Regions from separate parts of the Homo sapiens genome. Here regions 1 and 3 are each linked to region 2. The links are contacts of gene promoters, found by promoter capture Hi-C in human tissues and cell types (Jung and others, 2019). All regions are on one chromosome and are shown on one strand. The core of a region is centred on a gene start or on the middle of the fragment in contact, and the rest is flanking DNA. Distances in the headings are between cores, read along the strand shown.

Region 1 (4,406 bases), core at 1,054-3,553, 660 kb before region 2:
GGTCCAGTCCAGTGACCCAGAAGGTACCATTGATATGACCAGCCCTAATTTGGGACCAAAGGAGAAATCAAGAGTACATTTGAGATAGTCACGAAATCTAGAACTAGACAGTATCTCTTTTATTGGCTGCAGAATGTGTCAAGACTAGTGAAAATGTCATCTATCTCTCCAACCCATCTATTTGACAGTCCTCCCTATAGCCACCCCCTCTAGGAGGAATTTTATGATTTAGATTTTCCACTTATCCCTGGGAAATTATACCTTAGCTGACCTTAACTCACTCCATTGTCTTCTAAAAATATAAATCAGGCCAAAGCAGTTTGTTAACAAATATGTACTGAGTATTATTTTCCAGGCTTGATGCTGGGCACTCAGCGTCAAACAAAAGCAATAAAACTTCAGCCTTCCTGAAGTTCAGAATCTGCCAGGAAAGACAGACATTGGATAATTGAGTTAAATTGTGGTAACAGCTATGGAGTGTATGTGGTGCCCTTGAGTGTCTGTAATTGGAGGACTTAATCTTGATAGAAGAAAAAAGGGAGGCAAGAAGGAAGAGCTCTTTCCAAGGAGGAAGCAAGACCTGAGCAAAGGCCTCATGGCCAAGGGTGTGTGTTTTATTCCAGGCATGGAGGGAAGGCCCATGAGACTAAAGATCTACCATAGCCATGGGGAGAAATAGAAGCAAGAAGTGAAATATGTCTGTGAGCCTTAGGGAGAAAAACTCACTGCCTATTCCCATAGAGGAAGAAAGGAGAGACAAAAAAAAAGCTATTTAGAGGGGACCAAATGACCCTCCCCATTGCTAAAATAAAAAGCAGTGAGAACAACCCACATTCAACATGTGGATCATCCTAAAACCTCTTAGAATTACCACAAACTATGTGAAAGGAAAATGATGTGCTCCTCTCCTTTTTAGAAAGAAGCAAAGATTTTATTTATTCTTCCTACCAGGGCCAACAATTGGGTTCCAGAGAACACATTTGGGCTGGGAGTACCTTTGTTTCCAGTTGCTTTCTTTTAACTGGTCTTATTGGAAACTTGTAACACGGGAACCATTTCCTGTAGCTAGATGTGCAAAATTGTTGTGCACTGTCACGGGCCCTGTGAAATCACCCCAGGAGTCTGGCTGATGATGTTTTCTCCCCTCAACTTATTTCAGTTTTATTTTTGAAATCTATTTCATGGGGGTTATTTTTGTTACTTTGGTGTATTTTGTCTGGATTGGTTTTTGTTTCACTCTTTATTTTTATTAAAAATGTATTCCCTCTCCCTTCCTGGATTCCATTAAAATGGATGAGAAATTCCACAGGCGCATGCCTGGATAATTAAAATGTCTCAATCCTTGTTCCTATTAATGAGCTTTATTTTGGATTTTGAGGAAACTGTTCTTTCTTCGTGCCCCTCCCCCACTATGTCATTGATGGTTACACTGAAACAGTGGGAAATGGTCTGGTCCATTTATAGAATTTAAACCAGAAAGAATGCCATATTCTCTATGATTTTATGCTACTTTCAGGAGGGGCCTGATGTGGGTGTCACCAAGAACATGATTCAGGCTTTGAGAAGACTAAGAAGAGCAGTTGAGACCAAAAAAACAAAAAAACCCAAAACAGAAAAACCCTTAATATTTTGTTTTACGATGCAAGTAATGCATACTACGTTAGTTTGGTTTTTTAAAAAAGTCCAAATAGTGTAAGATAAAAACTCTTAACCACTCCCTTCCTCAATTCCAGTCTCTTCCCAGAGCTAACCACTGTTGCCATATTGGAACGCTCCTTCCAGACATGTCAGGATATCTGCTAATGCACAAAAGCATATGTGTGTGTGTGTGTGTGTGTATGTTTTTTGTCTGTGGGGTTCTAAAATTACAAGTGCATAATAATGTACCTATTGTTCAGTGGTGTTATTTTCTCCCACTTAATTCATCTTTTGAATCTATGCCTTTTTTTTTTAACTGCTAAATTGTACAGTCATCCCTTGGTCTCCATGGGGGACTGGTTCCAGGACCCTCTGCAGATACTAAAATCTAAAGATGCTCAAGTCCCTGATACAAAATGGTGTAGTATTTGCATATAACCTACATCCTCCCATATACCTTAAATCATCTCTAAATTACTTATAATACCTAATACAATATAAGTGCTATGTAAATAGTTATACTGTATTATTTAGGGAATAATGGCAAGAAAAAGGTCTGCACATGTTCAGTAGACAATTTTTTTTCTCAAATATTTTTGATCCACGATTGGTCGAATCTGCAGATATGGAGGGTCACCTGTGTTCTATAGCATATTAGTCAGCTAGGGCTTCCATACCAGAATACCACAAACTGTGTGGCTTCAACAACAGAAATGGATTTTCTCAGAGTTCTGGAGGCTGCAGGTCCAAGATCAAGGTGTTGGCAGGGTTGGTTTCTGGTGAGGGCCCACTTGCTGAATTGCAGGTGGGCACCTTCTCACTATGTCCTTAGGTGGCCTTTTCCCTTTGTGCGTACCCCTGGGGTCTCTTCCTCTTCTTATAAAGACACCAGTCTTATCACATTGTGGCCCCACCCGTATGACCTCACTTAACCTTAACTGCCTCCTTTAAAGGCCCTATCTCCAAATACAGTCACATTGGGGATTAGAGTTGCAACATATGAATTTTGGGGGTAATTTAGTACATAGCAGATGTATGTATCTCCTATACTTTAATACTTTGTACTTTGTCTGCCATGGGATAAATTCCTTTACATTTTTTCTTAAAAAGCTTAATATAGTATGATTTTGCCTCCTTGGTCTAAAAGTGATTAAGATTTCCTTTACCTCTGAGGGTAGGGGGAGGCAAGAGAGGAAATGGAGATGGGAAGGGATGCGGGGGGAAGGGATTGATTATTTTTAAGGCTGATATCCAATTACTCATTCTCAATAGCCCGCAGGGTTTTCAGCTGCTTCTCTGCCTGCTAAGCTACAAAGTGGGAGAATTTGGCATTTGAGGATGCAAAGTTGGAGGAGGCAGGCAAGGCCAGAAATGTCCTGTGTGGGATGCAAGCCTTCCTTGAAAATTAGCATTGCCAGTGGGAAGCCTGGGAGGATTTAAAAAGTTCTGGGCCCCAGGCAGACACCTCCAGCTCTCTTTCCAGTCGCTATGCAGACTGAGTTGTCTGGGTGAGTAGCACCCAGTTACCAAAATTCAGCATTTACCATTTTGTGCATCTTTAAGGACCCTCTGTGCTGGCTCACCCACGTCCCCTCATGTCATGGGAAAATCTGAAATTCTTTGTTCATTTGGATCAGAGTAATGGCTCAGGGAAGACAAAAACATTTTTTTTTTAAATCTACAGGGGCTCTCTGGATATGTGCAATACTGGAGAGAAATACTCTGACCTCTTGTCTAAGGTAGTAGTTCTCAGGGGCAATTTTGCCTCCAGGGTACAGTTAGCAATATCTGCGGACATTTTCATTGTCACAACTTGGGGAAGAGGTTGGTGGGCTACTGGCATACAGTAGGTAGAGGCCAGGGATGTTGTTAAACACCCTACAATGCACAGGAAAGCCTCCCATAATGAGGAATGATCCAGCTCTGTATCAGTCTGTTCTCATGCTGCTATGAAGAAATACCTGAGACTGGGTAATTTATAAAGAAAAGTGGTTTAGTTGACTCACAGTTCCACATGGCTGGGGAGGCCTCAGGAAACTTATGATCACGTTGGAAGGCACCTCCTCACGGGGTGGCAGGAGAGAAAGAATGAGAGCCGAGCAGAGGAGGAAGCCCCTTATGAAATCATCAGATCTCACTAGAAAAGCATGGGAAAAACCATCCCCATGATTCAGTTATCTCCACGAGGTCCCACACTTGACACATGGGTATTATTACAATTCAAGGTGAGATCTGCCTGGGCTCACAGAGCCAAACCATATGAAGCCCCAGGTGTCAACAGTGCCCAGGTTGAGAAACTCTGCTCTAAGCCAAATGATAAAGATTTGCTGGGGCCTTGCAATTGGGAGAATAATTTCAAAGAACGTTGACATCTTAATTTTGCAGAACATGTAATTTTAGGTAAGTCTGCATCCCTCCGAAATTGCTGATTTGAATGCTTCTTTGAAACAGCGGGTATCTCAGTAAACGATTTCCTTTTCTATGTTTCCAATGGCTGCTGAGGCAGTCTTCAATTGCTTAGTCATAACATACAGGATTCTTGGAGAGCAGTTTGTGAAATCCAAAGCCATTCTATGTTTGGTTACATTTTCAGTTGGGTTACTTCTATCAAGTGGCCTTATTTAAATTTCAGCCACTAACTAAAGCTTCACCTTGAATGTAATAATAATGCACACCTCACAAGGTGTTATGACGATTAATTAGTTAACTTTTGTAAGGTGCTTTGAAGACAGGAAGTCCACTCTGAGTTCTATTATAATTCGGCAAAT
Region 2 (4,604 bases), core at 1,232-3,731:
CTGAAACGGAGTTTGAATCGTGTCTCTCACTTACTGGATTGAGGGGGGTCAAATTATTTCACTTATTCAGATCTCGGTATCCTTATTGGTAAAATGAGATTACTGACACTGACTTCCTGAAAGAGCTGTTTTGAGAATTAAATTAAATGCTATATGTTACCCCATGGTAAGTACTGAATAAGAGTACTTATTTAGACAAAGAGTAATTATTCAGACAAAAGATTTTTGCCTGACTTGCTTAGTTAGCTCAACTGTCTTTTTCATGTCTCACGATTTAAAAGACATTTTCCTAAGATTCTTTAAGACTTTTTTACAGATGTAAATGCAGAAGCCAGCTAATACACTGAAGAAAAGATGGGTAGACTCACTAAGGATGAGAAATTCATAAACCTAGGTTCTTGGTCACCTCAGGAGTTCACCAAGAGATATTTTGTATCTTTCTGGCCTATCAGCTCTTGTGGATCAATTTTTTAAAACTGTAGACAAAGTTCATTCTTCAAGCAAAGTCCTAGAAAGAAAGCAAAGGAGAGAGAGTACACAAAGGAGGCTTCTGTCCCTACATATCGTAATTTCTATACCATTAGTTAACTTCTCTTTGTCAGGAAGGATTTGAACTGAAAGAGAAAAAAAGATTTAATGGGAAATACTGGAAAGTGCTATATTTTTGAGTAATTTTACAATGGAAGTACTGGAATATTTTCCACAGGAATCAGCCAATAGATTGATTTCTTGATATTTTTCTGTTCCTTACTAAATTTTCAGCAACTCCCAGACACTGTGATTGTGGGGAATGTTGTTATAATAAAAAGAAAGATTGTGTATTAGAAGAAACGTATTTTAGTGAATTAATTTGGAGGTTCAAGGTTTAAATGCCATTCTCTAAAAATCTCTAATTGTGCACAATACAGATGTTATTTTTCCATCCTTACATTTTACATATCCATTATGAAATTCCAGTAATAAGACGATGGTAACATTATCAATTTGGGTTAACAATTATTTAGCAAATTCGTCTTGCCAAGTCATTTTTACCCTTCACCAGAAGAAATATATGTATTAGTATCTCAAGAATAGTTGACATTGCTAGCATATTGCGATTTGGTTCCTGGTGTTGGCAATCTTTGGTATTTCTAGTCCTGAGTGCTAACCTACCACGCAACAGAACCTCAACCCCCGTTCTAGGATACTTGGGCAAATATATATTTATTAGTCATATATTTATATATTTTTAACGATATTGTCATGTCTTTCCTCTTGAAATTATCTTGAAATTCTATCTTCCTGAGGGCTGGTTAAAGAAAAGGCGCCACTGAACCACCCAAGATTGAACAATTCACACACACACACACACACACACACACACACACACACACGAAGGTGTAGCTTGAAGCGCCTGCTTTCAGTCTTTCCCAGTCTTTCCAAGCATCTCTCAGGCTGAAAGCAAGCGGAAGTGATTGAGAAATCCCTCCAGGGACTGGTGCCTCCCACAGGGATCTACAACTTTACACTCCATCCCCCCTTCCCCTCCCATCTCTAAACCCCCTGGTAGTGAGGGGCGCCAGAGTCCCCGCCCCTTCTTGCTGCCAAAATTTGTTCTTAACCTTTTTTGGGGCAGGGGACCTACAGAATGCTATGGACCCTCCATGAATGGTGACAGAGGTTGGTGGAAAGCACAGCTTAAATATTTTGCGAAATTTTCAAGAGACCACGTATTAGAAACACACTCCGACCTGCAGGATTAAGAACCCCATTTCTAAAACTCTTGACTTGGGGTGATTAAATCGAGAGCGGAGCTCAGGTGCCAAATCTCTTCCCGAATGAAAAAGTGTAGGAAGGGAAGGCGCTCCGGCGCTGGGCCACTTTCACTTGTAAGAAACCAAAAGATGGGGACTGGTGGCAAGAGATGGGGACGGAAGAGAAAGGAAAGGAAAAGGAGAAATGTGAGAAACAGACAGGGACACGGTGGGGCGGGGAGAAGACAGACATCACAGGGGAAAATGGGGAGAAGGGACAGAGTCCGAGAGGCACAGCAGCAGAGAGACAAGGGGGAGGAGGAAAAAGAGACTCGGAAGGGAGGAGAGAGAGGAGAGGAGAGGAAAAAGACGAGAGGGGAAGTGGCTGCACGCGCGCCAGGAAAGGGAGAGAACTTTCCCTGCTTTCCCTCCCCGGGGCAGGGAATCTCAGAAAACCCCACTTCAGCGAGGTGGCGGGGACCAGGAACAGCTGCCCCGGCGCTGGTGACGCCTCTGGCCTCCGCCTCTTGCAGCCGGCAGGGCCTCCGGCTGCGAGTCCCGCACGGGCCGGCCGAGGAGGGGACATGGTCTGGAAGGAGGCGGTCCCCGTTCGTCTCGCTTTCTCCTCCCCTCTCCTCCTCTTAGAGGCGTGCACCGGGGGCATTTGAGAGGCTGTGGACCCGCGGCCCCCCCGCCTCCGCCCCCCCAGCCCCCCATTCAAGAAGCCGCTCAGCTATCCCGGCCAGCACAGGGCGCCCGGCGCGCCTCGGAGCGCAAGTTCCTCGCCTTCTCCTGCCCGCTCGCTGGGCATTATGCGGCCAAGCAGCCGAGCCCCAGTCCTCCTCCTCCTCCTGCTCCTCCGGCTCCTCCTGCGGCCCGAGCGGCTCAGCTCTCGGCAGGCGGCGGCGTTGCTCAGCCGAGCGCAGACGGGACCCTCGCAGCGAGACCTCAGCGACTCCTAAAGTCAAAAGTTGGCGGCGGGCGCCGGGCTCCGCGCGCTCTCCACGGCCGCTGCCTCGCGTCGCCGCCGCAGCCAAGGAGGGCAGGAGGGAGGGGGGTGGGGGCAGCGGAGGGAGGGGTGGGAAGCACCATGCAGTTTGTATCCTGGGCCACACTGCTAACGCTCCTGGTGCGGGACCTGGCCGAGATGGGGAGCCCAGACGCCGCGGCGGCCGTGCGCAAGGACAGGCTGCACCCGAGGCAAGGTAACCAGGCTCCGGCCCCCGGGACCCCGCCGGCCCCGACGCCGCCTCCCGGTCCTCGCTCCTGGGCAGGGGCACCCCGCAGCGGAGGCTTCTCTCCTTTTCCTAGAAAGAATTATCTCCCGCTTTGCAGCCTCTCCCTTCTTTGGGTCATCCCCAACCAATTGCTAGGGAGGGACACTATGGAAACGAATTTAGGCAACCCCCCCCTACCTTGCTGTTGCCAGATATATCCCCATCCCCACTCCCACGCCGCAAACTAAAGTAACTTAGTAATTGGGGGCACCAGATAGCGTCATGTTTTATTTTATTCAGGTTATTTATCAATATCTGAAATCATATATATTTTGACTTGTTAATTGTCTGGCTCGGAATAGTGTATCCTCAGCACCTAGCACAGGTCCTGTTACTGGCACATAGTAGGTGCTCAGCAAATATTTGTCCACTGATTAAGGGTGAAGGGATTGACTCGAATGGGCTGGAAAATAAGGTCAGAACAAAGTCCCCACCTTCGTTTTAAATTAAAGCTTAAGGAAAAATGAATTATTGGTTCATATACCTCTGCTTCTCTCCGCAGTGAAATTATTAGAGACCCTGAGCGAATACGAAATCGTGTCTCCCATCCGAGTGAACGCTCTCGGAGAACCCTTTCCCACGAACGTCCACTTCAAAAGAACGCGACGGAGCATTAACTCTGCCACTGACCCCTGGCCTGCCTTCGCCTCCTCCTCTTCCTCCTCTACCTCCTCCCAGGCGCATTACCGCCTCTCTGCCTTCGGCCAGCAGTTTCTATTTAATCTCACCGCCAATGCCGGATTTATCGCTCCACTGTTCACTGTCACCCTCCTCGGGACGCCCGGGGTGAATCAGACCAAGTTTTATTCCGAAGAGGAAGCGGAACTCAAGCACTGTTTCTACAAAGGCTATGTCAATACCAACTCCGAGCACACGGCCGTCATCAGCCTCTGCTCAGGAATGGTAAGTGGGCGCGCGCCACCTCCTCTCCCCTTCCGCCTCCTCGCCCGCTTCTAGAAGACTTAATTGTCCTCTAAGCCTAGAGACCCTCACTGTGGCGAGGCTCCGCTCCTCTCCGGCGTTAAATATCAGCTAGAAACTCGTATGGTTTGGGTAGCTAGCTCTGTGCGTGCGAGTACACTGGCGTGGAGCGCACACACCCGCCCCCAGGGGCTTCTGGATGTTTCAGAGCTTTCTGGAGTTTGGACTCGGTTCAGCGGCGCGTTGCCCAACGCTGCGAGGCGGCCTGGAAGTCAGTTTCCAAACTCGGAGAAAGTTACTGGAGTTGCGGTTCCCTGCAGCAAACTTGGCCACCCGGGAGCGGAGCCGCTGAGCGCAGGGCGGACCAGACTCCTTATTGGTGCGCCTTGCATCGGGGATGTGGGGCTGAGGATCCCCTGCCCAAGGCACTGGGAGTTCCTTCAGTGTGTGTTGTGGAGGGCGGTGCGTAATCTAGAGTCCCCGCTTTCTCTCAGGGCCTTTATTCACGCGCCAGGAACCCTGAGGCTGAACTGGATTGACAGGGAGCAGGTCCCGTCCCAGGAACGGAAGGGTGGGCCGAGGGCTCTGGGGGCGGGGGAGAAGGCGGAGCCTACCCCGGACGCTTTGAATTGGGGTGGAACCGAGAGTGGGGGTGCAGCGCAGTCCAACTCTG
Region 3 (4,223 bases), core at 598-3,097, 740 kb before region 2:
CATCTGCAGTTGGCAGGCTAGCACTAGATACTATTAATCTTTCTGGAAGGCATATAAATATATCTGTTTCTGCCATACATTAGTTGCTTGAATCAGGGCTGACATTTAATCATCTCTTCTGTATAGTGGGGATGTAATGAGAAGGCTTGATGAAGGTGCTTCAAGACAACAGCTAGGTTCAATGAGAAAGTAAATGCCCACTTTACCGATTCTTTCTAATGAATCTAGTTTATTTTGTAACTGCTAGTAAGATGACTGATAAACTCATCTACACTGTTCCATGAGTCTCAGGAATTCCTGTCGTGAGGTTGTGGCTTTCTATGCTTTAAAGAACGGGCCATTTTTACTTTGGGACAGAACTGGCTGCTATGTTTGTAGCACCCATTTTAATTCCTCATCTCTAGAGCTCGTTTTTGACATTTGTTCTTGTCAAGATCTAATACATTTCATTTTTAGTAGTTTTAGTCCATCCCCCTTCCCTCATCTGGAAATCGAGCTGAAGGTTGAAATATCATTTGTAAATGTCCAGGGTCAGACAGTTTCCTGAGTCAGGCTTAGAGCTGCTGTGCAGTGTTCATCCATACTCCCAAGTAGCCGGGACCAGTCCTGATTTGCTTACAAATCTCCTCTTCATCAACATCTCCCTGCTTGCCAGTCGATCACTCAGGTTTTTAAAGGGCAGTTCTTCTCTGTGTCTGGCTCCCCTCTTCCAATTGTGTGTCCTTACTCCTTCTCCCTCTGCTGTCCAGTCAGGAAAGTGCTTTTTACCCTTCTATTTTGAACATAGCATCTGCATTCAGAAATCCTGTCACCTGACATCAGTGTGCATCTAGAGACTTCTTTGAAGTGTTTGGAAAATCAAACTAGTTTGTGGATTTTTATTTTTAATTTGTAAAAGCTATCGAACTTGTCCCATAAGGATTTTTTACTTTTTTTAAAAAAGGCTCATGTAGATAGCGTAACTACCTGTGCCCCTCTGTGTCAAATATTTTGGATATTCGGCAAATTCACACCTATCAGTAGGTGTGACACTCTTTAAAATGTAATTTCATGTTGAGTCACAACACTCCGTTTCAAGAAAAGATTTGGCAGCACTGTATGCAAGTGAAGATCCTATGTTTTACTTTTGAGAGAAGGCATGTATTAAAAAGAAAACTGAACTTGGGATACCAGGAGCTGACCTTGAGTACAAACTCTGCCCGTAAGCTTCTGCATATGCTTCAGAAGGGTACTACTTCTACCCTGACACTTATTTTTTTAATCTAAAAGATGAATGTTTTGAGCTAGAGAATCTTTCAGGCACTCCATTCTGGCTCAAATTTTATGCAAGGGATGACCTTATTGTTGTATAGAGGAAAGACCACAGGACTGTGGAGACAGAGGATGCAAGTTTAAATCCTGGCTTCTGCTCTACTTGCATTGTGACTTTAGGCAAGTCACTTGCCTTCTCTGAGCTTAGTTAGACTTCTGAAAAAAATGGGCATGATGTACATAGATTAAATAAGGTAGCATTTGTGCCAATTCCTGACGTAGTAGTCATCACATGATAAAGCAATAGTGGCAATTGGGTGGGGAAGCATTAATATTTTATTTTTTATAAAAAGTTCTAGCTGGGCCGTACAGATTGTATGATGTTTAGGCATGTGTGTTTTTTTTTGTTTTTTTTTTTTTTTTTTTTTTTTAGAAGTTCTACTGGTAGGTTTTTTTTTTCTTCTTCTCTTGATACAGGGTCCTGCTCTTTTGCCCAGGCTGGAGTGCATGATCATGGCCCATCACAACCTCAAACTCCTGGGCTTAAATGAACCTCCTGCCTTAGCCTCCTGAATAGCTAGGACTACAGGCATGTGCCATCTTGTGAGGCTAATCTCTTTTAAAAAATTGTTTTGTAGAGACAGGGTCTCACTGTGTTGCCCAGGTACCACTGGTGATTCTGATATACAACCAGAGTTGCAAAAAATGTTAGGCTTCTGCCTCTACGGTCCCTTCTAGTTTTGATTCTTTGACCTATAAGTTGGATGAAAATAAGTTTATAAAGCTTATTTTAATATTTTCGTTTCTGAGTAATGTTCAACTTTTAAAGTCTGTTTTGTAAGTGACAGACTTTTCAGTCTTCCCTAAGGTCCATTTCAGCTCCCACATTCTACATTTTTCTACTTCCAAGGAGAATAGAAAGGGGACTTGCTATTGGAGATGCTCATTTAGAGTGCCATCTCCCACTGGCTTTTGCTGATCACAACAGTAATGGAAGTGAAATTGTCCTTTCTAGTTTGCACAGACCATATACTGAATACTTTGGTCAGGCCGCTAAATAATTTCAGGGTCTGATTATACATTCATGAAATGTTAAAATTCCTAGAGAGCAGTAATGTGTTTGACTCTTACTCTTGTGTCTCTGGCACTTCCTGGGGAACCTGGCAAGTGATAAGGTCTCAGTAAGTCATAGCTGAATAAATTAAACTTGATCCACCAGTCACAATGGAAGATTAATCCTCTAGCTTTATAAGCACACTTTGTAACTCTAGAAAAATGATAATGAGAGTTAAAAGGCAAAACTTAGATAAGAAAATGGTGGTGGTGATGGTAATGATAATGTCACTACTGTCATTTCCTGAGTACTTACTATGTTCAAGCTGTGTTACCATGATACATGCAATACACATACATACATTCATGCACACACACATGCCCAAGAAGGTAAATAAAACCTTTCAAGACTTCATTGTTGCAACCACATTGAAACTGCCACCAATTTGCAATGTGATGATGGGTTGGATCCTTGTGAAATGAAGGCAGTGATTGTTAGCTTCTATGCTAGGACAAAATACAAGAAGGAGTTGTTTTTGTTTTCCCACAGCTTAATTTGGTATAAATTAGTATAAAGCAAAGGAGAAAATTCTGTTTTAGTTGGGAAAACCTGCATAAGATTTGGAATGAAAACAATAAATGCTTCTACAGTGTGCCAGGCATGCTTCTAGACATTTTACATATCATAATTCATAAGAGTCCTCTGAAGTAAATACAGTCTTAGCTCCATTTTGGAGAAGAGGAAGCTGAGGCCCAGGGAGTTTCTGTGGTTTACCCAAATTAGCTGGTTAGTGGCAAAGCTAGGATTGGAACCTAGGAAGACTGGCTCCAGACAGTGCTTAAACACTCTGCCCAAAAGCCTCCTGCCTTACAGGCAAGAAATTGCTCCAGTACCATAATTATTGAAGACTATATCTTATGCATAAAGAAATGAGTAAAGCCTGAAGTCTGTGGGCAAAGTAATGCCTCTTAATTCTCATCAAAATTTACTGATGATATTTAGTTCATTAAATCGTCATTGATCCAAACAGAGAAAGCAGTATCTAATCTCGTTAGCTAAGTGCATCATTAGCATTAGCTCTTCTCTGTGTGTGTGTGTGTGCGCGTGTGTGCACGCACGTGTGTTTTTCTGAAATGATACAAAACCATCATAATTAGAACCACGGTAAGCCATGCACAGAGAGTTAAACCCAAGTGATCAGGCACTTCTCCTCTTTGCCCTCTGGTCTTGGACCAGAGAATGAATTGTACATTGTACTGCTTAAGTGCTTGACTGCCACAATGTCTCAGATTGAGCTGTAGGGCCCCAGAAAGGGGAATTCAGGTTGTGTATAGAGTGATATCTTAATAATGTTGGGGTCCTATATGTTCCCATCAGCAAATACTGCCAGTTCTCCCTTCTCAGTGTACTCAAACTTGGTTTACATCTCACCCCATCCCTGGCCTTTACCACCCATTGTAGGGCACCTGGCCTTGCAGTGGCCTCGCAACAGGTCTCAGTGCTTCCTCCAGTCTGCCCTCCAGCTACAGTGCTTTAAAGTACATCAGATCAAGGCAGTTCCTCATGTCAGAATAGCTTCCCATCATTAAGCGTGAACTCCAAAGTCCTGTGTCAGGGCCCTAGCACTTACATCTCCTTCTGTCTGTATTTTTCTTCTCCCAGGTAGCCACAGGACCTCCTCACTCACATCTTTCAGGCCTCGGCTCGGAGGTTATTTCATCCCCTTTCATCTGAGGAGTCTGCCGTGACCATTCCTCATAAATCAAGCAGCATCTCCCACGATCACTGTCTGTTCTCGTGATCTTTCTTATGTACTATACCTACCTGTGATCCCCCTCAGATAAGGGACTTGGTTGCAATCACTACTTTATCCCTGCTGCCTAAAATGGTGCCTAGTCCATTATAGGTATTCAGAAAA

The links. Contacts are between HindIII fragments. The study calls those that stand out against the background at their distance.
Region 1: a fragment that was not itself captured here is called in contact with the fragment with the promoter of ADAMTS9 in region 2 in 1 of the 25 tissues and cell types used here (H1 embryonic stem cells).
Region 3: a contact is called between a fragment that was not itself captured here and the fragment with the promoter of ADAMTS9 in region 2, in 1 of the 25 tissues and cell types used here (heart left ventricle).

The regions. Positions count from the first base shown.
Region 1 is chr3:65,343,253-65,347,658 of GRCh38, reverse strand. No RefSeq gene overlaps it. Among named protein-coding and RNA genes, the nearest start is that of LINC02040, 170 kb to the right of the region's middle. The HindIII fragment of the contact is 6,006 bases long and covers 1-4,406 here.
Region 2 is chr3:64,685,877-64,690,480 of GRCh38, reverse strand. It overlaps ADAMTS9 (ADAM metallopeptidase with thrombospondin type 1 motif 9), which reads left to right and starts at 2,481. Exons shown (of 40, transcript NM_182920.2): 1 at 2,481-2,938; 2 at 3,513-3,913. The coding sequence starts at 2,824. All of the region lies in intron 1 of ADAMTS9-AS2 (ADAMTS9 antisense RNA 2), which reads right to left. The HindIII fragment of the contact is 6,670 bases long and covers 1-4,604 here.
Region 3 is chr3:65,422,568-65,426,790 of GRCh38, reverse strand. The region is part of intron 12 of MAGI1 (membrane associated guanylate kinase, WW and PDZ domain containing 1); the gene reads left to right. Among named protein-coding and RNA genes, the nearest start is that of LINC02040, 250 kb to the right of the region's middle. The HindIII fragment of the contact is 4,148 bases long and covers 1-3,921 here.